Linked DNA regions of Homo sapiens: region 1 is linked to region 2. The links are contacts of gene promoters, found by promoter capture Hi-C in blood cells and fetal thymus (Javierre and others, 2016). All regions are on one chromosome and are shown on one strand. Each heading gives the region's core, a stretch centred on a gene start or on the middle of the fragment in contact. The rest is flanking DNA. Distances are from core to core; before and after follow the strand shown.

Region 1 (2,700 bases), core at 21-2,520, 3.7 Mb before region 2:
ACGGGGGGGCGGGGGCGGGGAGAAAAGGGCATACTTCCTGTTTTTAAAAAAACTTCCCAGAAGATCCATACAAACTACTACAACTTACGTTCCTTGGACAAAGCTTAATCACATGGCCACACTTCATTGCAAGAGAGGATGGTGAATACAATCTTTTTTAATTAATGGGACAAATGCCCAGCTAACATTTGAGGTTTTATTACTGAGCAAAATGGAAAAAACAGATATTAGAGGCAACTAGCAGTGTCTGCCATAGTTCTATGTCTCTGGCTACCCAAATATCCGGGCACACCATTCTTTCTACAGATAGACATACCTTCCCTTTTCCAAGGGAGACAACCTAAAATTCCATGCAGTTGCTGAATCCTAGCCAAAGTCCAGAATATTCCTCAGGACCAGATGCAGATCTCATGATAAAGTTATCATCCGCCTCAACACATCCAATATACAATGGTAGAATAGGAACAAGATAATCACAATTTTTTTCAAATCTCCAATTCAGAAACTAAGAAGATCAAAAACACAGCATAAACTTATCCAAAAAATTACAGAAATAGCAGTGCAGGCTTATTTTTTTTCAATAATCCATTCCTGAATATCTGTGATCCTTTCACAAGAAAATGCTGAATAGGAACTTAGTTTTAAATGGGAAAAAATAAAATGCATTACATATCAACCAAAAAATTCTTAACAAGTATTTAAAACATAGTATCAAATATTAACAAAAAATGATCATGTTAAGATGTACAATACTATACAAATAACATCTTATTCACCAAACAATTAATACGAGCTGGGCACGGTGGCTGATACCTATAATCCCAACACTTTGGGAGGCTGAGCTTGGTGGATCACCTGAGGTCATAAGTTCAAGACCAGCCTGGCCTATGGTGAAACTCCATCTCTACTAAAAATACAAAAAGTAGCCAGACATGGTGGTGGACACCTGTAATCCCAGCTACTCAGGAGGCTGAGGCAGGAGAATCACTTGAACCTGGGAGGCGGAGGTTGCAGTGAGCCGAGATGGTGCCACTACACTCCAGCCTGGGCAACAGAACAAGACTCCGTCTCAAAAAAAAAAAAATTTTTAATATGATTGTTAACTCTCAGTTGCTTCTGAATGTAATAGCACAATATAGTTTTCATGCCTGATAATAAACAATATGTTTACTATGTGGCCCAGCAATTACACATTAATAAATAAGGAAATTTTAAAATTACAATTAAAACCAGGTGGTTTCTTTTAGTTAACTGTTTTTTGTTTGTTTTGAGACATGGTCTCACTCTGCTACCCAGGCTGAAGTGCAGTGGCGCAATCACAGCTCACAGCAGCCTATATCCCCTGGGCTCAGGAGATCCTCCTGCCTCAGCCTCCTGAGTAGCTGGGACCACAGGTACGCCACCACACCTGGCTAATGTTTTTAAATTATTTGTAGGGTCTCCCTGTGTTACCCAGACTGCTCTTGAACTCCTGGGCTCAAGCTGTCCACCCACCTCAGCCTCCCAAACTGCTGGGATTACAGGTGTGCACCAACACACCTGGTCCTAATTAACTGTTAAATGGAGACTTGAAGCATAAAGAAATTTGAGAAAAAGGGGATGGTGCCAAAGGGGACAATGCTGATGAGCTGGGTGGCAAAGGGGTGATTTCAGGGAAACTCCCAAGTTCAAAAGAAAGGATACTCTATCTTTTCTAGTGCTGCTATGGAGATTCCAAAACAGGAAGGCATTGATAAATCCTCAGGGGAGATGATCTGTGCTTTAGGATGCAAAAAAAATTGCAAAATGGAGCAGTATGCAGTTAAACCAGTAGCTTACATTTGTAAATTTCTTTATATGGTATTATAAGATATAGCAGGCTGTTTTTTAAAAGAAAGCCTTCTCTTCATGCCACCATTAAGTTTAAAGATAATGTTAAACATTGCATCTGCATGGGTCATTTATTCTTTTAGGTTGGCTATGACAGTGGCTTGATTGGATACTTTCTGGGGGCTTCATTGTTTCTTCTTTTTCATTAAAAAAACGCAGGGAGGGCTTTAGGGTTCATCAACAAGGTGAAGCAAAGAGTTTCTCCAAAGAAGGTGCACAGTGGATGAAGAAAACTAATCTGGCAATTTATGATGGAATTCAAAGGCTTTGAAGAAACGCCAAGATGAAAATTGTTGCCCCTTTCTTTGTGATGGAAGAATGAAAAAAAAAAAAAAAACACAAAGTTGTTGCTCTTGTAGGATTCTAGTTTTGAAGATGTCAACGAAAAAGAATGGAAGAGCTCTTAAGATCTAATGCAGAGGATTTAACGACACTAATCTAGTTTAGATCTACATGCAGTCATTGTAGAAATAATTATCAGGCACAAGTACAATGGCAAAGTACGGCAAACTCGAAGTATGACACTGTAGTAGCTCTTGATTCCAGCAACAGTCAGTAACCAAGCTTTTCACAAAGCTACATATGATTCTGATTTTCTTTTCTTTTCTTTTCTTTTGAGACGGAGTCTTGCTGTGTCACCCAAGCTGGAGTGCAATGGGACGATCTCGGCTCACTGCAAACTCCGCCTCCTGGGCTCAAGTGATTCTTCTGCCTCACTAGCTGAGATTAGTGGCACCCACCACCACACCCGGCTAATTTCTGTATTTTTAGTAGAGACGGGGTTTCACCATGTAGTCCAGGCTGGTCCCAAACTCCCTGACCTTAGGTAAT
Region 2 (2,700 bases), core at 163-2,662:
AGCAAAACCCTGCCTCAAGCCAAAAAAAAAAAAAAAAAAAAAAAGACACATGCAACCGTATGTTCATTGTAGTGCCATTCACGATAGCAAGGACATGAAATCAACCTAAGTGCCCATCAACAGTGGACTGGATAAAGAAAATGTGGTACATATACACCATGGAATATAATGCAGCCATAAAAATAAGGAAATTATACTCTTTGTAGCAACATGGATGGAACTGGAGCCATTATCCTATGCAACCTAATGCCAAGAACAGAAAACCAAATACACATGTTCTCACTTATAAGTAGGAGCTAAACATTGAATATATGATGGTAAACGTGGAAACAACAGGCATTGAGGATCATTAGATGAGGAAAGGGGGAGACGGACAGAGGGGCATGGGTTGAAAAAGCACCTGTTGAGTACTATGCTTACATCCTGTTGGGATCATTGGGACCCCTAACCTCGATATACCCTAAGGTTTTGCGTTTTGTATTTTGAAACTGGTAAGATCAAACTTTTTTCCCAATTTTTTTTTTTTTTTTTTAGATCGAGTCTCACTCTGTCGCCCAGGCTGGAGTGCAATGGTGTGATCTCGACTCACTGCAACCTCCGCCTCCAGGATTCAAGCGATTCTCCTACCTCAGCCTCCTGAGTAGCTGGGATTACAGGCATGTGCCACCACGCCCGGCTAATTTTGTATTTTTAATATAGACAGGGTTTCTCCACGTTGGTCAGGTTGGTCTCGAACTCCCGACCTCAGGTGATCTGCCCGCCTCGGCCTCCCAAAGTGCTGGAATTACAGGCATGAGCCACCACGCCCAGCCATCCCAGTGTTTTAAATAGCAATTTATATTTCCTCTTCATGAATTGTCTGTTAAAGCAGTTGTTGGCGGGAATCAAGTTTTGTTCTTTCAATGTGCTTCGGGCCTTAGAAATGGTGTTTGTTACTTAGTTGACTCTCACAAAGCTTTGAATACATATAGATAGAAACCTAGCCGTAATTGTTTAGAATCTTGAGAGAGTAAGCCACTAACACCGCACAACTGTGTGCCATTTTACAACTTACAGAGAATATTCATGAGTATTAGTGCATTTTAATACAACTACTGTGCATTGTTGCTTTCAGCATTTTACTATGCGGAGCAGTCTTGAGTAACTGAGGTCTGAGAAGGATAAATGGTGAAAATTCAAGGAATTTCTCCTAGAAACGGAGGAATTCGGCTTCCCTAAAGAAAGGACATACCGACTGAAATAGTTGGTCCTCCCGTGCACCAGAGGGTGAAGCAGCAGGATGTGACGCCTCACGAAAAGTGAGCGGCTTGCTGGACTACACTTCCCAGAAGGTTTCGTTGGCCCTCGCACTACGCAATCACCCAGAACGCTCAGCGGCCGAAAACTTCAGGTTCCAGGCTGCTGTGCGGCTAAATGCGACTCCATCTCCCCCGACCCAAGCGCGTAATGGCCGCTGGCTATCTTGGGGGAGCCAGCTGTTGGACTATGCCCCACTGCCAGGAAACAGGCGCCGGAAGGTTCTCTGACAAGATCTCGCTTTCCTAGGGCGGTGAAGGCGTTCAAAGGTCGGGAAGGGGCGCTGGGAGAAGCGGGGCAGCGCTGAGCCATGCTCGCGAACTGTGGGTCTGTCTGTGAAGAGACCCAGTTTCGTGGGACCACGGTGGCGCCTGCGCTGGGAGGTGAGCTTGTGACAGAGCGAAAACTACAATTCCCAGCATTCCTGTGGTGCCAGAACTACCTTGCCCGAAAGCCTGTGCGAGATTTACCCCGTCTTCCGCCTCCCTCCCACCGGAAAACTCTGAGGACATGAATAGTCGCCAGGCTTGGCGGCTCTTTCTCTCCCAAGGCAGAGGAGATCGTTGGGTTTCAAGGCCCCGCGGGCATTTCTCGCCGGCCCTGCGGAGAGGTGAGGCAAGGCGTCGTGTCATAGATGCCTGAGTGCTCTCTAGGGAGACGATGCCCGTGGGGTCGCGCCTGCTCGAGCGAACGGGAAGAGAAGGTGCCACGCCCTCCTCCCGGATTCACGCCTTGTGCTGGGCGACGCCGCTGCCTGCTGCCCCGACTTGCCCAGCTCGCCCCAAGGGGCGAGGACTGAGGAAAGCACTGCCTTTCTGTTCTTAAAGCGAACCTTTGAAGGCCTGGGCTTCGCGCCCGGCTTCTTTCTCAGCCGTTGTTTCCGTTTTTTGGTGACAAGAGGCTAGTAATCTCGTCAGGAGCCAACGTAAGGTAATCTGTGTTTGAGGGTGTCCTGTTTTCTTTTGTGGCCTGATCAAATTTTGATTTTGTTTTTTTAGGTGCTGGCCTCGAGCCCAGGTTTTTGGTAGACAGCATCATAAATTTCAGGCCACGTCTGCCTTATTCTCACTGGAATTCTCAGTACATTTCAGTCACATTGTAGACTTTGGGAAAATAAGTGAATACTGGAACCCACAAGTTTCCAACCTGTTGGCACCCCTGTTAACAGGGTGTCCTGAAGACATCTAACTTTATTCAGAGAAATGTTTCTAGGGCTAGGTTTTTGTTGTCGTCGTTGTTTTTCACCCCCAGTTTTTTAACTTCCCTCCCAGTTTTTAAACCGTTTTAAGGTTGTCCACAAAATAGGCGAATAGGCACCTCTTATCTCTGTTCACCTTCTTGAATCTTCAGTGCCAGGTACGCTGAGCCATTCGGTACCCAAACACTTCTACGCTGTTATTTATA

Evidence for each region. The method cuts DNA at HindIII sites, captures the fragments that hold promoters and counts their contacts. A CHiCAGO score of 5 or more calls a contact.
Region 1: a contact is called between a fragment that was not itself captured here and the fragment with the promoter of CCDC90B in region 2, in 2 of 17 cell types (non-activated CD4 T cells and total CD4 T cells). The highest score is 7.6, in non-activated CD4 T cells.

Annotation. Positions count from the first base shown.
Region 1 is chr11:87,033,566-87,036,265 of GRCh38, reverse strand. The region is part of intron 1 of LOC105369422 (a long non-coding RNA gene); the gene reads left to right. Among named protein-coding and RNA genes, the nearest start is that of TMEM135, 3.0 kb to the left of the region's middle. The HindIII fragment of the contact is 2,330 bases long and covers 106-2,435 here.
Region 2 is chr11:83,285,079-83,287,778 of GRCh38, reverse strand. CCDC90B (coiled-coil domain containing 90B) reads left to right here and starts at 1,412. Exons shown (of 9, transcript NM_021825.5): 1 at 1,412-1,906. The coding sequence starts at 1,807. It overlaps CCDC90B-AS1 (CCDC90B antisense RNA 1), which reads right to left and starts at 1,659. Exons shown (of 3, transcript NR_186344.1): 1 at 1,232-1,659. RefSeq lists enhancers at 1,375-2,024, 1,447-2,042, 2,075-2,154, 2,043-2,639. The HindIII fragment of the contact is 4,800 bases long and covers 958-2,700 here.